Regions from separate parts of the Homo sapiens genome. Here regions 2, 3, 4, 5 and 6 are each linked to region 1. The links are contacts of gene promoters, found by promoter capture Hi-C in blood cells and fetal thymus (Javierre and others, 2016). All regions are on one chromosome and are shown on one strand. Each heading gives the region's core, a stretch centred on a gene start or on the middle of the fragment in contact. The rest is flanking DNA. Distances are from core to core; before and after follow the strand shown. Region 1 holds the start of SRFBP1 (serum response factor binding protein 1). Region 2 overlaps DMXL1-DT (DMXL1 divergent transcript). Region 3 overlaps HSD17B4 (hydroxysteroid 17-beta dehydrogenase 4). Region 4 overlaps HSD17B4 (hydroxysteroid 17-beta dehydrogenase 4). Region 5 overlaps HSD17B4 (hydroxysteroid 17-beta dehydrogenase 4). Region 6 overlaps HSD17B4 (hydroxysteroid 17-beta dehydrogenase 4).

What was found. The method cuts DNA at HindIII sites, captures the fragments that hold promoters and counts their contacts. A CHiCAGO score of 5 or more calls a contact.
Region 2: a fragment that was not itself captured here is called in contact with the fragment with the promoter of SRFBP1 in region 1 in 2 of 17 cell types (naive B cells and total CD4 T cells); the score reaches 5.6 in naive B cells.
Region 3: a fragment that was not itself captured here is called in contact with the fragment with the promoter of SRFBP1 in region 1 in 6 of 17 cell types (endothelial precursors, naive CD4 T cells, fetal thymus and 3 more); the score reaches 10.0 in endothelial precursors.
Region 4: a fragment that was not itself captured here is called in contact with the fragment with the promoter of SRFBP1 in region 1 in 5 of 17 cell types (endothelial precursors, naive B cells, naive CD8 T cells and 2 more); the score reaches 10.0 in endothelial precursors.
Region 5: a fragment that was not itself captured here is called in contact with the fragment with the promoter of SRFBP1 in region 1 in 2 of 17 cell types (naive CD8 T cells and total CD4 T cells); the score reaches 5.4 in naive CD8 T cells.
Region 6: a fragment that was not itself captured here is called in contact with the fragment with the promoter of SRFBP1 in region 1 in 1 of 17 cell types (naive B cells); the score reaches 5.6 in naive B cells.

Annotation. Positions count from the first base shown.
Region 1 is chr5:121,960,634-121,963,347 of GRCh38, forward strand. SRFBP1 (serum response factor binding protein 1) reads left to right here and starts at 1,342. Exons shown (of 8, transcript NM_152546.3): 1 at 1,342-1,435. The coding sequence starts at 1,400. RefSeq lists enhancers at 995-1,533, 1,278-1,327. The HindIII fragment of the contact is 3,156 bases long and covers 1-2,714 here.
Region 2 is chr5:119,029,522-119,032,235 of GRCh38, forward strand. The region is part of intron 1 of DMXL1-DT (DMXL1 divergent transcript); the gene reads right to left. Among named protein-coding and RNA genes, the nearest start is that of DMXL1-DT, 40 kb to the right of the region's middle. RefSeq lists an enhancer at 2,321-2,370. The HindIII fragment of the contact is 3,610 bases long and covers 1-2,714 here.
Region 3 is chr5:119,459,340-119,462,053 of GRCh38, forward strand. The region is part of intron 2 of HSD17B4 (hydroxysteroid 17-beta dehydrogenase 4); the gene reads left to right. Among named protein-coding and RNA genes, the nearest start is that of HSD17B4, 8.2 kb to the left of the region's middle. RefSeq lists an enhancer at 1-87 and a silencer at 2,233-2,450. The HindIII fragment of the contact is 3,959 bases long and covers 1-2,714 here.
Region 4 is chr5:119,475,757-119,478,470 of GRCh38, forward strand. It overlaps HSD17B4 (hydroxysteroid 17-beta dehydrogenase 4), which reads left to right. Exons shown (of 24, transcript NM_000414.4): 6 at 68-114; 7 at 1,661-1,745. Among named protein-coding and RNA genes, the nearest start is that of HSD17B4, 25 kb to the left of the region's middle. The HindIII fragment of the contact is 1,378 bases long and covers 562-1,939 here.
Region 5 is chr5:119,491,719-119,494,432 of GRCh38, forward strand. It overlaps HSD17B4 (hydroxysteroid 17-beta dehydrogenase 4), which reads left to right. Exons shown (of 24, transcript NM_000414.4): 10 at 382-406; 11 at 2,100-2,228. Among named protein-coding and RNA genes, the nearest start is that of HSD17B4, 41 kb to the left of the region's middle. The HindIII fragment of the contact is 6,928 bases long and covers 1-2,714 here.
Region 6 is chr5:119,520,837-119,523,550 of GRCh38, forward strand. The region is part of intron 17 of HSD17B4 (hydroxysteroid 17-beta dehydrogenase 4); the gene reads left to right. Among named protein-coding and RNA genes, the nearest start is that of HSD17B4, 70 kb to the left of the region's middle. The HindIII fragment of the contact is 2,402 bases long and covers 202-2,603 here.

The sequences.
Region 1 (2,714 bases), core at 92-2,591:
AGGTTCAAGTGATTCTCCTGCCTCAGCCTCCCGAGTAGCTGGGATTACAAGCATGCGTCACCACGGTCGGCTAATTTTGTATTTTTAGTAGAGACGGGGTTTCTCCACGTTGGTCAGGCTGGTCTCGAACTCCCGACCTCAGGTGATCCGCCCGCCTAGGCTTCCTAAAGTACTGGGATTACAGGCATGAGCCACCACCCTCCGCCGGAAGAAACGTTTTTCCTGCATTTTGAATAAAGGGGCCTGGATTTTCATTTTGCACTGTACCCCAGGTATTATGTAGCTGGACTTGAAGTCCTGTAGCAGTGGACAGTCCCAGGCAAGTGACTCTGGGCGAGGCACTTGGTGCCTCTGAAGTCACTTTCCACATCTGTAAAATAATAGTTCAGAGCAGAGTAGGGTGGCTCACTCCTGTAGTCCTAGTTATTTGGAAGGCTGAGGTGAGAGGATGGCTTGAGCCCAAGAGTTTGAGGCTGCAGTGAGCTATGACTGTGCCACTGCACACCAGCCTGGATGACAAAGAGAGACTGGGTCTCTAACAAAATAATATTAATAAAAGGAAAATAATTTCTATCTTGTTGGATTTCTGTGGAGATTTGGAGCTAATTTATGTAAAGCTCTTGGACCACCATTTGACACATTTTAATGGTCAATACTAGAAGGTGTTGACAATTATATATTACCTAATTCAAACACACTCCCTTACGTCTCCTATGCTTGCCGGCTAATAAACAGCCATTCCCACAGGCAGTACCAAATGTGTATCCTGGTTTTGCTTCAAATGTTTATTCCCTAAATTTAAACCCTTCTATAGTGTGCAGGAAAAAAATGTCCGCACCTCAGCTATAATGTCAGGTTGTAACAAAAAACTGCGAGGATTTAAAAAGGTGTGCTTGTTAGAAAAGCAGAAATCTTCACAAATACTAGATTTAAAAAAATGGAAGCAAAAAATCGTTCATTCAAGTGATCATTTCAGAAGAGCTCTTTCACCGCCGTTCAGCGCCCCCCTAGCCATTAGAGAGAAAAACCAAGGCCGGTACAATGCGAGCGCAGTGTACCAAGGGAACACACACACACACACACACACACACACACACACACACACACACACACAAACCGAATCTTGAAAAACTAGACGTTGCCCAGCTACCAGCCCCCGTCTGGTTTCCATAGGAACGCGCAATTCCGTTGCGTAGCCCTCTGCGCCGGTAGTTGTTCTGTCTCAGTTCCGGTTTTCCCTTCCAAGCGTCAATGTTTCTTGTTCCCAGGCGGCAGCTAGAGCAGAAGGCGGATGAGTTTTGGACAGAAGAGGCTTCCGTTGAGGGGCGTGGCGACGCAGCCGCGGTCTGAGAGACCGGTTCACGTGCAGGCAGCGGCGGATCATATTCCTTCATCTACCATGGCTCAGCCGGGAACTCTGAACCTCAATAACGAGGTGAGCGCCGAGGAACCTATGGGGCTGACTTTAAGGGTCCTCAAAACCAGCTCTTTTGAGACGCGTGGTCGGAGGCGGGCATAGAGGGTGCGGTTGGAGGAACTTTCGTGGTGGGCCCAGGCGGGTTTCCCGCAACTTGGAGTTTGGCAACCGGTAATTTCCCTTTTCGGTCTCCAGGTGACTAAAGTGAGAGACATGTGTCAGGCCCCACGAATTTATGTCTGTGGGACTTTGGGAAGAACCTTTAGCCTGTACGTTCAATATTCTCGTCTGTAAAGCGGAACTCAAGATAGTTCGTCCCAGGGTTGTGAGATTAACTGAGATACGTAAAGTATTTGCAAGTGCCTGACCCTTAATAAACTTTCAGTACACATTACCTGCTCTTTATTGCCTGTCGAAAATGAAAGAGAGAAAGTAAGAGCTGTAGCTTCTAAGAAATTGGTGGTCTTGAATGAGACTGTATGCTCAGTACTTCGTTTCCTCTTCCAGTTAGTGTCCTATTTCTTTGCTTCCGTTTACAGCAGAACTTCAATAAAGAGCTGTTTATACTTGCTATCCTCAATTCTTTTTTCTGCTTTTTCAGTCCATTCTCATCAGACATTTGTTCTCACCACCGTCACTTCCATAGTGTGCGGTGTCGACAAAATACCATTTCTACCACTTATCCCCCTCTGGTTTCTGCTTCTATTCAACAAAATAATGTCATCCAAAGTCTTAAAGTAAGCTGGAAACATAAGGATCGAGTAAGGACCTCACAGTTAGATACAGAAAGGAAATTCTTTATCCCGTTTATGAGCAAGTCACTGTTTAGATTACACACAGTAGTGTAAGGGATATTTCATATTTTCTAGTAACCTATACTCAAGTAAGAGAGCTAAGCAACACTCACCTGTGTTACAGAACAATGTGTGAAGAATGCCTCCAAAACCTAGTAATGCAGAAAAGTTTCCAAAGGCGGCAAAATGAAATGGGTGATACTTGTCCTTGGTCTTTAGGGATCTTGCACAGGAATTGCAGTCAGTGATTCAGGAAAGGGGAAGAAGTCATTCCAGGCAGAGGGACTGGTATAAGCAGGAAAGGGCTAGTAGCAGAAGAACCCGTGGGTAATACAGGGATAAGTAACTCTTCACTGATGGGAACTTGTGAGATGAAGAAGGAAATAAAACTGAAATATATTCTCTGCTGCCAGATTAACGAGTCAGGATTTCAGTTGACAGTGGAGTACAGGATATGCTGAAGAGGGAAGCTGAAAGTAGTTACTATTTACTCATAAACATAC
Region 2 (2,714 bases), core at 108-2,607, 2.9 Mb before region 1:
ATGCCTATAATCCCAGCACTTTGGGAGGCTGAGATGGGTGGATCACTTGAGGTCAGGAGTTTGAGACCAACCTGGCCAACATGGTGAAATCCTGTCTCTACTAAAAATACAAAAATTTGCTGGGCATGGTGTTGTGCGCCTGTAATCACAGCTACTCAGGAGGCTGAGACAGGAGAATCACTTGAACCCAGAAGGCGGAGGTTGCAGTGAGCCGAGATGGTGACACTGCAATCCAGCCTCGGCAAGAAAGCAAGACTCCATCTCAAAAAAAAAAAAAAAAAGAAGTGATTCTTTTTAAAAAAAACACACAATGTGGATATCTGATTCTAATAGTGGCAGACAAAGTGATATAGTTTGACTGTGTCCCCCACATTTCATGTGTTGAAAACTTAACTCCCAATGCAATAGTGTTGGGAGGTGGGGCCTAATGAGAGGTGTTTAGGTCACGAGTTTGTCAAAAGATGCTAGAGAAAATTATCTCTAAATATGTTGAGTCTACTTGGAAATAGAAATAAGGATTATAGGCCGGGTGCCTGTAATCCCAGCACTTTGGGAGGCCGAGGTGGGCGGATCACGAAGTCAGGAGATCGAGACCATCCTGGCTAACACGGTGAAACCCCGTCTCTACTAAAAGTACAAAAAATTAGCCGGGGGTGGTGGCGGGCGCCTGTGGTCACAACTACTTGGGAGGCTGAGGCAGGAGAATGGCGCGAACCCAGGAGGCGGAGCTTGCAGTGAGCCGAGATCAAGCCACTGCACTCCAGCCTGGCAACAGTGCAAGACTCCGTCTCAAAAAAAAAAAAGAAAAAAGAAAAGAAATAAGGATTATAATCTGGAATGCATGACATGGCAAATCACCAGAGCATTCAGTGAAGAAAGGGTAAGGAGAGCCTTTATTAGCAAAAAATATTTACATGAGCTGCTTAGAAATGGCTCATTGGTCATGGAGTTTCTAAGCCAGAGTTGCTGTTAGTTCATTGATAGAAATGCCATTACTGGGCAAATGTTTTTCCAAGAACAGCTCAACTTAATCACTGCAGTCTTAAAGAATGTCTTGTGATAAATCTTTTGCGTTTTTTTGTTTGTTTGTTTGTTTTTTTGAGATGGAGTCTCACTCTGTCGCCCAGGCTGGATACAGTAGCGCTGTAGTGAGCTCACTGCAACCTTCACCTCCTGGGTTCGAGTAATTCTCTTGCCTCAGCCTCCTGAGTAGCTAGGATTACAGGCACATGCCACCACACCTGGCTAATTTTTGTATTTTTAGTAGAGATGAGGTTTCACCACATTGACCAGGCTGGTCTCAAACTCCTGACCTCAAGTGATCAGCCCGCCTCAGCCTCCCAAAGTGCTGGGATTATAAGCGTGAGCCACCGTGCCCGGCCATCTTGTGATAAATCTTATCAAAGGGTGTATGAAAGAAGTGAAAGGATTTTTAGAAAGTTCTTGGAACAGTTCTTATCTCAGATATGTAAGTATGAGCCTCCTCTCCTTCAGGACTTGCTGTCCCTATTTTGCCCTGTGGAGACACAGAGCTAAACCATATCATTCCACCCATGGCCTCTCCCAAATCTCATGTCATTCTCACATTTCAACACACAATCATGCCTTCCCAAAAGTCCCCAAAAGAAAAAAAATAAAGAAAATCATTGCCAGTCCCTTGAGCAGATGATATAACTCATACCAATACTTGTATAGAAGAAGCATATTCTGAGTATTCAAAATTGAATCAGACTCAGAGGTAAAAAGATATAGCCTCAAAAAATGTGGCATACCTAAAATATCCGTGAATCTTCTTACTCATTTAAATAAACTAAATTTGAATTTCAAATTCACTGACTTTTCCTATTACTATGATGTGAGACAGGAAGCGTCCTTCAAGATTTATACTTTTTAAAAAATAAATGACTACACTATTTTTCAACAGGACGAATGCTACAGGAAATGAGCATACAAAATAAGAAACAGAAAGTGGAGGCGGTTAGCAATGGCTTTAATTTGGCTCCTTACTTTCACACAAAAACACCTGCAGAGAGCTTCAAATGCTATGCATGTGCTGATGATTCTCAAATTTACAACTTCTGAAAAAGTCTTTTTTCTGACACCCCCACATCCTCCTGTTCATTCTTCAGATCTCAGCCTAAAAAAGGTCAATTCCCAGAGAATCCCTTTCCTGAGATCCAAGACTAGGTCAGTTTTAAGACAGGGGTTTTCAATCCTTTTGACCTTGATCTACCATAAGAAATATATTTCATATCATGATCTGGTGCACACATATGCAAATATGCATTCTTAAACAAATGATTATCTCTATCTGCCAGTCACTATTATAAACCACTAGGGATACAAAGTGAATAAAACGTATAAAAACTTTGCTTTAATGGAGTTTACATTCTAGTAATTCTGTTTCTGCCTTTGCCTTCCTTAAAACTATTCTCAATCCTGCAGCCAAAGTGATCCTATTAAAACATAAATCAGACGTCACTCTTTTCCTCAATGCCATCCAATGGCTTCCCATCTCACTCAGAGTCAAAACCAAGGCCCTGCCTACTACAAATCACGTAGCCTTACATGATCTGCCCCACTGACCATGACTCACCCTCTTTCCTCGTCACCTGCTAGTCCTCCCATTCACTCCCCTTCAGTCATATTGGCCTTGCTTCTCTTCAGACGGGCCAGCCACACTCAGGGCCTTTGCACTGACTATTCCTTCTGCC
Region 3 (2,714 bases), core at 117-2,616, 2.5 Mb before region 1:
AGAGAAAGGAACCAATATCAGTCCCTGCTTACCATATATGACTCACTCTGCTCAAGAACTGGATATATCAAAGTGAAGGTCTTGTTGACTGAGGTCTTGTTGACTCAAGGCACATCCTAGCCCCCTTATACATGTTTCTCCTAGATGCTTAAAGGAAAAGCTCTGTGTCTTAGTCTGTTTTCTGTTGCTTATAACAGAACACTTAAAACCGGGTAATGTATTTTAAAAAAGGAATTTATTTCTTATAGTTATGTAGGCTGAGTAGGCCAGTGCTGAGGGGCTACATCTGGTGAGGAGGGCCTCCTTTCTGGTGGGGACTCTGTAGAGTCCCGAGATGGCACAGGGCGTCACAGGGCAAGAGGCTGAGTGTGCTGGCTCTCGTCTCTTTTCCTCTTCTTATAAAGCCACTAGTCTCACTCCCATGATAACCTGTTAATTCATTACCCGATTAATCTATTAGTCCATGAATAGATTAATGCATTTATAAGGGCAGAGCCCTCACAATTCAATCACTTTTTAAAGGCCCCACATCTCTTTTTTTTTTTTTTTGAGAGGGAGTCTCCCTCTTTTGCCCAGGCCGGACTGCAGTGGCGCTATCTCGGCTCACTGCAAGCTCCACCTCCCGGGTTCACGCCATTCTCCTGCCTCAGCCTCCTAAGTAGCTGGGACTACAGGTGCCTGCCACCGTGCCCAGCTAATTTTTTTTTTTGTATTTTTAGTAGAGATGGAGTTTCACTGTGTTAGCCAGGATGGTCTCGATCTCCTGACCTCGTGATCCGCCCGCCTCGGCCTCCCAAAGTGCAGGGATTACAGGTGTGAGCCACTGTGCCCGGCCAAGGCCCCACATCTCTATACTGTCACATCAGGGATTAAATTTCAATGTGAGTTTTGGAGGGGCTAAATATTTAAACCATCCCAGGCTGCTTTAGGCACTGATACACTCTCCGCAACGGTAAGTATAGTACTTAGTAATCAAGAATATATACTGATTGAATAAGTGAAACTGATATAATACAGGGAGAAAGATCATAAGAAGGCACATGTGAATTCCAGCTGATAATAAATGAGCCGTACATGAAATACCCACATCTCCCTTGGATACCTCCATGACTATCACCAATCTGGATTATGGGGGAAAACCTTTGAATAAATTTAGAGTAGCTCTTAGCTATTTGTCATTTTAAGAGCTAGAGTAGTTCTTAGCAAGTCGTTATTTTGTCATTTGCCAGTTTTAAAAAAAGTAATAAGGTTAATAGACTTAACATCAAATAGATTCATTTATTCATCTAACATGTATTTATTAAGCGTCTATTATGTAGCAAACACTGTTCTAGATGCCAGAGGAATATAGTGGGAATAAAACAGAGTCCCTACTTTCATGGTGCATATATTCTAGTGGGGAGTAGTGGAGGGACAGATAATCAAGAAATACATATGTAAAAATATAATAGATGTAGGTGCTGTGGAGAAAAAAATGAGTGAATGGAACAGAAAATGCTTTAAGGAGAGACTGCAGGAAGTGAAGGAGTGCGCCTTGAGGAGATCTGCTGTCGCGGCATCCCTGGCAGAAGAAGCAGCTGAAGCCAGGTTACTGAGGCTGCAGCAGGCATGGTATGTTTTAGGGTTAGGAAGGGAGCCAGTGTGGTTATATAGCGAGCAAGGTCATAAGGGAGACAAAAGTGAGAGATGAGGGCAGAGGGGTCCTAGAAGGCCAGATCACATAGGACCTTTAGTTCAGAGTAAGGACTAACTTTTACCCTGAGATGGGGTAAAAAGCAATGTACATAATAGTCATCAAGTAATATTGATGCTCAGATATGAACTTTATTTCTCTCTCAACATTTCAGTAAAGGAATTTATGATTCATATCTTATGTAACAAAGAATTAAGATCTTTTATAAATAAAGGACATTTACAAATCTATAAGCAAGTATCCCAAATAAAATGTGAACTAAATAGGCAAAACAATAATAAATATAAATATAAGCCATGAAAATAAAATATTACTTTACTAGTGCTCAAAAAAATGTAGACTAAAATAATGAGCTACAAATTATAATCATGTAATTGTCAGACTGAAGGCAATGATAATAACCAATGTTGTGAGAATGTGGGGTAACAGGCATTCTCACAAACACGTGGTTCTATTTTCAGGCTATTGATGCCTGATAATTTGGTACCTTGTACTTAGTTATCTATTTACCTACTTATAGAATACTTTTTATCGGATCTAAGTGTGTTTTAGAATTCCTTGGATCCTGGCTGGGTGCAGTGGCTCACGCCTGTAATCCCAACAGTTTGGGAGGCTGAGGCAGGAGGATTGCTTGAGGCCATGAGTTTAAGACCAGCCTGGGCAACATAGCAAGGCCCGCTGTCTTTGCCAAAAAAAAAAAAAAAAAGCCACGTGTGGTGGTGCATGCCTGTAGTCTTAGCTACTCAGGAGGCTGAGGCAGGAGGATGGTTTGAGCCTGGGAGTTTGAGACTTCAATGAGCTATCATTGTGTCACTGCACTCAGCCTGGGTGACAGTGATACCCTGTCTCAAGAAAAAACGAAAAGGATTTCCCAATATTCGTACATTCCCAATATAGCACGTATTTGACAAAATTTTGGGAATGCTTTTTAGGAAAAATCTTCTGTAGTTAATAGACTGTCCGAGTCACTGATTTATTTAAAATGACAGAAACAAGGAAAAGATTTATGTTAAAAAAAACC
Region 4 (2,714 bases), core at 1-2,500, 2.5 Mb before region 1:
GTGTGTATAATTTTTTTAAAAAGTATATACTTTCCTCCTTTTACCCTATACAACATTGATTTTTTAGAATTCTGAGGGATCGTTCCTTTGCTAGGATAAGTGATGAAGACTGGGGTAAGTTGTTTTTAGTATTTCTCTGGGGAACATACTTATCCATTTAGCCTTTTTAGTATTTGATAAATTTATACATTTAAGGAAAAACCTGCTTCTATCTACTTTTGCTGCTAATATAAATGATGAGTAAACTGTATACTGAAGACAATGAATAGTTAGAAGTAGCCTCTTTTAGAAAACATTTAATACTTTTAAAAAATGTTAAATCATTTGTTTAGAAGATATCTAAAAGGATTTTATTTCTTCAGGTTTCCCTCTCCCCTTTTTTTCTCCTTAAGAGGTTGTCAGCATTTTCTAGAGGTATTAACTCTTAACAGCCTTTAACGTGCTTATCCAGCTGTGTGAATCTTTTTCAAGAACAGGAGCAGGATATTTAAGGGAGTCTAGTGCACTAAAAATGATGGAGATTTTAGAACAGGTTAGGACAAAACCTGGATATAATTTTGAAGCTTCTAGTAAATAGGAAAGTTTTCCATTCTTTCTGAATTGGAAAGATTGAGTTTAGATAATGAACAAATCACAGTTAAGAATTTTTTTTTTCTTTTGCTCCTCTTTGTGCTTACTTTCATTGGCCATCAGAACTAAAATGAACAGTGGTGGCTGAGACAGAGGGAAGCATGGCAACTGAGGTGAAACAATTGTATCATTGTTTATAGAGTGTGTTTTGGGGGAATAGTGCCTGACTGTCTTTTGGAAGAAGAGTTAGTGTCTTTGATTTAGAATTAAGCTAAGAAGAGCTTTTAGTTTCTGCTTCCCTTGTAACAACTGGGGTAAAAAAGAAGCTGAGAAAGATAGGATTTGCTGGCAAAGGGGGCCTATGTTGGTGCTTTTCTTGGTGCTGCAACGGGACTGAGGTATTTCCTTCTCTGATTCCATCCTACTAAGCCACTACTCCTGACTACCCTTCTCCCTCTCTTTCTTTTTTTTAGTTCCTTTTTTCACTCTTACATTCTTCTTCTAATATACACATGAAAACATTTGTTTTACCAAAAATAAGTAAGAATGCTTAAAAAACTTGACAATTAAAATCTAGAATTGTCTGTCTGAATGTTTCATAAGTGGTCTGTTCGTTAGATTGAAATTTGTGAAAACAGGCCTCTCACTAACTCATTTGCAAATGGTAACAATAGGGATCTAGTGAGTATTTTGTAAATATTTCTTAATGAGCTATGTGATTTATGATTATGCCTTAACTGATGTTAGTGTTGGGTGCCAGTTATATTTATAAAAATCTTGGATTTTATATTAGCAAAATTTTTATATGAAGTAGGCATAAAATAAGGGCGTAGCATTATATTTAGATGTGTATAGGCATTACATTAATTTTACAAATTATGAGGAGAGCTGTTGTAGTTCTAAGTGTGAAGTATTGATTAGTAGCATAACTGGAATAAAGGCAAAATACTCATTGGGGTGTGACAGTAGGCAATTTTATACATTAGGTATAAAATGAACATCTTTGTATAAATACAACATTGCTTATGTTGATTCTTAGACATGCCTAAGTTTTTACAAAATATTTAATAAAAATAATTTATTGTTTTAGATATAATCCACAGAGTTCATTTGCGGGGTTCATTCCAAGTGACACGGGCAGCATGGGAACACATGAAGAAACAGAAGTATGGAAGGTAGAGTTGCATGTGGTTGTCAAGGGGGATTTAAGATGTTGTGTCTGGGGGTTCTTGTGTACAGGGAAAGATTATGTGAAGTGTTGTGAAATGATTTATGACATTGAGGAATATGTACAACCTTTTAACATATGGTTTTGGCACATACCCTCATTAAATTGGTATAATTTAGTCACAGATTGGCTGAGCTGGAAAGCTTTATATTTATTTTTTACCTCTTTTTGTTATTAAAGATTTTCTTGCTGCTCTCTGGCAATTTTTATTTTATTTTGAGACATAGTTTCATTCTTGTCCAGGCTGGAGTACAGTGGCATGAACATGGCTCACTGTAGCCTTACCTCCTGGGCTCAAGCAGTCCTCCCACCTCAGCCTCCCAAGTAGCTGGGACTGCAGGTATGTGTCACCATGCCTGGCAAGTTTTTTAATTTTTTGGTAGAGACAGTATCTCGTTTTGTTGCCCAGGCTGGTCTCAAACTCTTGGGCCCAAGTAATCTTCCTGCCTTAGTTTCTGGCATTTTAGAAGATAGTATACACATTGAGGATTCGGTTATACCTTATTCTGTAACCCGAATATTATTTCATGTCTTACCAGCTGGGGAGAGATGAATGGCTAGTCCCTGCTGGCTGGTGCTAGTCAGACGTGAGTTAGTCTTTATAAACTGTTTAGGAACTGTAGGACCCCTCATGATTGCTCCTAGATAAGTAACTCATTGTGGCAGTGCTAGTATGCTTTAGTCCATGTCCTCTGTTGCACTCTAGTGCTGAGGTCATTCCTGTTAATTTAGGATTCATACATACCTAATAGAAGCAAATTGCTTGTGATGCCTGTTTTTGTTGGAGATTTCTAGTTTATCCTGGTCCTGACAGTTTCTGAAAATAAATAATATGATTTATTTTACTTAGCCTAAGTAGAGTGAGTGAGGTTGGGTCAGATTTTGAGATGGCATTGTTTTAATGAGGCATTTAATA
Region 5 (2,714 bases), core at 75-2,574, 2.5 Mb before region 1:
TTTATATTGTTTGCTTCATGGTAACCACATGAAATATGTACTGTCATTTTTATTTTACATTTGAGGAAACTTGGATCACATAATTTGGCCAGGGTAGTCAGTAGACAAATTTGTATCAAGCCTTGGTCTCTGACATCAGATTCATTCTTTTCTATTACATGCATTTCTACTTCATTGTACTGTTTTACGTTTGTGCTCCGATAACATGAGCAGTGCAAAGTCATGGGGGCCAGTGGACTCTTACAGAGCTGTATTATTTTCATCTCCTGTTGCCTTGAATTCTAATACTGCTAGTAGAGGAGCTGACTTTTTTCTAATTAAAACAATTGTATTAGTGATTTCACATTAGATGGTATAATGTTTTCCCCCTCTTTTTGGTAGGTTGGAGCAGGATGGATTGGAAAATGTAAGTCTCTCTCAGTTTTTGGTTTGTATAGATTATTTCCTTATCTTTAAACCTACATATCCAGTTGAGATGGGTAAGATTTTTGTCAAATGCCTAACCATTGGATATAGTGCTTGCATATTCAAACTTAAACATTGCTATAGCAACAGGTATTTTTAAACATTGTGATTGTCCTATAGGTCTGTGGCCCTTTCAAGACCCTATCTATTCTTCCTGTAGGTAGTCCTTATTCAGGACTTGTCCTGTTTTATTCAGAACTGGCTATTCCTTCAGACAGCATATATTGATAATCATCCTCCCATGTCTTTGACTTCCCACATGCTCGTTCTTGCTGTTTCAGCAGAGAAGTGAGTGGGAGGGAGAGCTGTTTTGGAAAAAGATGGGTTGAGCCTATTCTAGAGCAGCAGGCAAGTTCTCCAATTTTCCCATGTAATTATTTTCTTCCATGAAGCAGGAGACGTCAAGGGGAGTGAGGAATCACATTGGACAACTTACTGGGACAGAAATTGCAGCTGATCTATGGGAATTATTCCGCTTTAGCCCAATAGTTATTTTAGATAGTAAAATTATTTTAAATAGTTATTTTAAATAACTATTTAAATTAAATATTTTAAATAGTTAAATAGTAAATTTACTTGGCTTCAACCCTCTCCTACCCCATCTCTCAAACCTTGTGAACTCCAAATTTGAGAATTGCTTTATGGCATTAAAAAAATTGTGAAAATTTCTGTGTCTCAGCTTATATTTAGTTGGCTATGGGTATCAAAATTAATCCAATTAACTGAATCAGTTAAAAGGTTGCTATCTCTGGAGGGCATTGCTGTAGTAGTATAATATTTTTAGAATTAATGGTCATTTTCTCTAATTGTTAAAGTGGCTTATATTCTTGAAGCATTTTTGAGTGTCTTATTGCATTCATTTAAAAAAGGAACATAAGGTTTTGCAGTAAAAGCTATATCTGGCACTTTATCAATAGGAAAGCTCTAGACACAGGCATTTCTGTCATTCCCAAAGACAAATCTTCAGTTTAACAATCATCAGTGTCTGACTATTATGTTTAAATAAGGTTATTAGTAGTTGTTTATACCTCTGGTTTTTAAAAAGAAAACAATGTTAAAAATTCTCCTTATGCAGCAGTAATGGTTTTTATGAATCTGTGCATTCTAACTGACTTCTTGTGGAAATAGAGGTAGAGCAAAGAGAAGGTAAGGGAGAATTATTTGGGGCCACCTGTTACACTAAATTTTTGTTAACTGAAGTCTTTGACCTATTATTTACTATTAGTCTTCAGTTTGCTAACTCAGCGAAGCTCTATTCAGTTATCTTCATTTTATAAACAAGAAGAATGAAGTATATTACTTTGGGGATCTGTGGTCATGAAGTCAGTCTTTTGATGTGATTATTATATAATTAAACTTTTTCACATACAGCATAACATTCTACCTTTAGTACTGTCTGGCATAGTCAGAGGAGAAATTTTTCCCTTCAGCTTCAAATGTTTCTTTAAATTGACCTTATCCTAGTGGGTTTGTTGGGAAAAATTCATTTTAAGGCTTATGGTAAAACTCTTTAGGAGTTAGAATCCCTTTTTTTCTGAATTTCCTTTCTCTTTAAAAATGAAAGGGTTCTTATGCATCTTACTTTCTGTCTCTCAACTATGTGCTCAGTATGTTAGTTTTGTTTCTATAACCAGTACGCTGGGAGCGGACTCTTGGAGCTATTGTAAGACAAAAGAATCACCCAATGACTCCTGAGGCAGTCAAGGCTAACTGGAAGAAGATCTGTGACTTTGAGAATGCCAGCAAGCCTCAGAGTATCCAAGGTAAAGAGAGTCCCCGTCACTTAGCCCTGGTTGGGGAATCAGAGGCAGCAAGCATTTTCTTCTCTTATGTAGTTGTCTTCTATGTTAACTGTAGTGTTAAGACACTTGAATCGTCTATAGCATATTTTCTGCTCTAGTAGGTATTAGAATTCTTCACATTTAAGATATTTATGTTATTCTCACTGTCAGTTTTTCAGCTTTATTATAATCCTGTTTTTTGGGTTTATGTGTGATTGGGGGATGGATGGCATAAGATGTTTACTCATTTGTGCTGAATGCACTTACATCCTCACTGATGGTTGGTTTCAAAGTCTTCCATTACCTACCTATATGCTCCCAATCTTACCATATTTTTCTCTTTCTTCCTTTCTTTCTTTCTTTTCTTTCTTTCTTTCTTTCTTTCTTTCTTTCTTTCTTTCTTTCTTTCTTTCTTTCTTTCTTTCTCAAAAAGATTATTTAAGCCTTTTTATTATTTAGGCTTAGCTC
Region 6 (2,714 bases), core at 153-2,652, 2.4 Mb before region 1:
TAGTTTTGATTGCTGTTCTTTGGCTTCGTTTCTTGTATAACAGTCAAAAGAGGTTATTTTACTTTTTCCCCTCTTATTGTTCCCATTTTGGGGGATGCATTATTTTTACTGTTTAGAGCATTTAACATTTATGTATTATTTCCACTTTTCTGTATCTTTTAGTTTTAGATTTGCAGTTGAATATGTCAACCCTTTTGCCAAAGCTTCTTAGTCAGCTCTTAGTTGGATGAAGCTCCTTCTGTGGAAGGTTTCCCAAGAACGGCTCCTGTGTATAGTGTTGCCTTGGTTTCTATATCTTTAAAACTATTTACCCTAGATACTTGAAGGGACAGCATTGTTGGATATAAAATCTTATTTCTTAAAAATGGTGCATCATTGTTGTCTTACTTTGTATGTTGCCTTTGAAAAGTCTGATGCCAATCTAATTATCTTCCCCTGTAAGTTACTTGATCTTTACCCTGAGGCCCTCAAGATTATTTTCGTTTTTAAAGTCTAATGGTTTTGCTGGGATATGTCTCAGTCTTGCATGTTGCAGGTCAGTCTTCCTTATATACCTGGTGGGCCTTTTTAATATGTATATTCATGTCTTTTAGTTTTATAGTATTAAAATTTTAAATATTAGTTCTCTTTCACTGTTTTGCTTTTCTTTCTTTGGGTATCCATTTATATGTATGTTGAATCTTTTCATGTCTTTCAACTACTTTTCTTCTGTTCTTTTTTAGTTGCTTCTTGATCTCATTTTCATTCTCATGGTTCATTTCTGCCCTTTCTGCCATCCCCTTATTTAATTTTTATTTGAATGTGTTCTCCTTTGGGTACCTTATAATTTAGTCTTCATTTCTTATATGATTTTGATTTTTTCTTTCCATTTCTTTCTTGAATTTAATCATTACTTATTTATTTCTTCATGTATGTCATCCATTTATTTTCTTAGTTTTTGGATTTTGGATTCAGAGTGTTTGTTTTACATCCCCAAATGCTTGAGTGTTTTGTTACAGTTTTCTTCTGTTTGGCAGTTTGTTTATTTGGAGGGGGGGTGGATTTTATTTACTAAAAGGTTTTGTTTTGCATTTTCAGTTTTGGTTTTTTTTTTTTAAATATATATGTATTTTTATTATACTTTAAGTTCTAGGGTACATGTGCACAATGTGCAGGTTTGTTACATACGTATACATGTGCCATGTTGGTGTGCTGCACCCGTTAACTCGTCATTTACGTTAGGTATATCTCCTAATGATATCCCTCCCTCCTCCCCCACCCCACAACAGGCCCCGGTGTGTGATGTTCCCCTTCCTGTGTCCAAGTGTTCTCATTATTCAATTCCCACGTATGAGTGAGAACATGTGGTGTTTGGTTTTTTGTCCTTGCAATAGTTTTCTGAGAATGATGGTTTCCAGCTTCATCCATGTCCCTACAAAAGACATGAACTCATCCTTTTTTATGACTGCATAGTATTTCATGGTGTATATGTGCTACATTTTTTTAATCCAGTCTATCATTGTTGGACATTTGGGTTGGTTCCAAGTCTTTGCTATTGTGAGTAGTGCTGCAATAAACATACGTGTGCATGTGTCTTTATAGCAGCATGATTATAATCCTTTGGGTATATACCCAGTAATGGGATGGCTGGGTCAAATGGTATTGCTAGTTCTAGATCCCTGAGGAATTGCAATTTTAGTTTTATGTTAGTGTTGTACAGATGAAGAATATTTACCTCTGTGCGTTTTGTGGTTTGGGGTGGTTTCCAAGATTCTTAGTTCAAAATTGCCCTTTCTCTCTGTGTAGCAACATGCAATTTCTTTAGTGGGTGGCTTTAAAGAAGGGGCACTGTGGGGAGGTGTTTTATTTTTAAAAATAAAATAAATTATCTTTCAGGATCATTAATTTCCTCTCTTGCTTCTTTTTTTCTTCATCCAGTCTCCAAAGGTGATATCTTTGTTTTATTCTGTTCTCCCCGAAAGTGATACCTTTCTGGAATTGCCACTGGAAGACTAGTGTACTATTAATTATTTTCATTGTAGTCAGTGCTGTAATCTTCCAGGATTCATTTCAGTATTTTTGCCCTTAAGATGGATTTATCTGGGAGTGATTTTCCTTTTCCCTCTTCCATGCACTGCTTTTGCACCCCCCAAGCCCTGCCACTCTGCAGTAGCTTTCAGAGGGTGCTCAAAAGTTAGCACTGATAGAAAAGTGGTGTTTATTTTGAGACTTACTGGAATTTGAACTCTGCAGTGTTCTCTGTCTTCTAGTTACACTGTAGGCTTGAGATTTGTGTAGTTTTATTTGTTCTCATTATTTGTATTTTTTTTTTCGAGGATATGAGGACTTAAAAAGCACTAGTTTCCTGAGCCTATTTATTTAGCATTTAGTTTAACTTAATGGTACAATTTTAAAAAATCAAATTAAGGAATAGTTTACCTGTATGCAGATTATCCTCCCACCTACTTTTAATATGCAAAATAATATATAGCTATTTTTCTTTTTCTTATTTTTTTGGTGGTTGTTATTTATAATGACTTATTTCCAGGCAGAAATGAAACGAAACAAGAAACTTTTAGCTTTCCTTCTGAAATATGCCATTTCTTCAAAATACGTAGAAGATAAGCTTTGGCAGTGGTCATTATTAATTGAACAATGCTTATTTTGTGTTATGATTGAATGGGTCAAACATCTAGTCAGTTGGCTTTTGTCATTTCTCATAATGAACCTTTTTT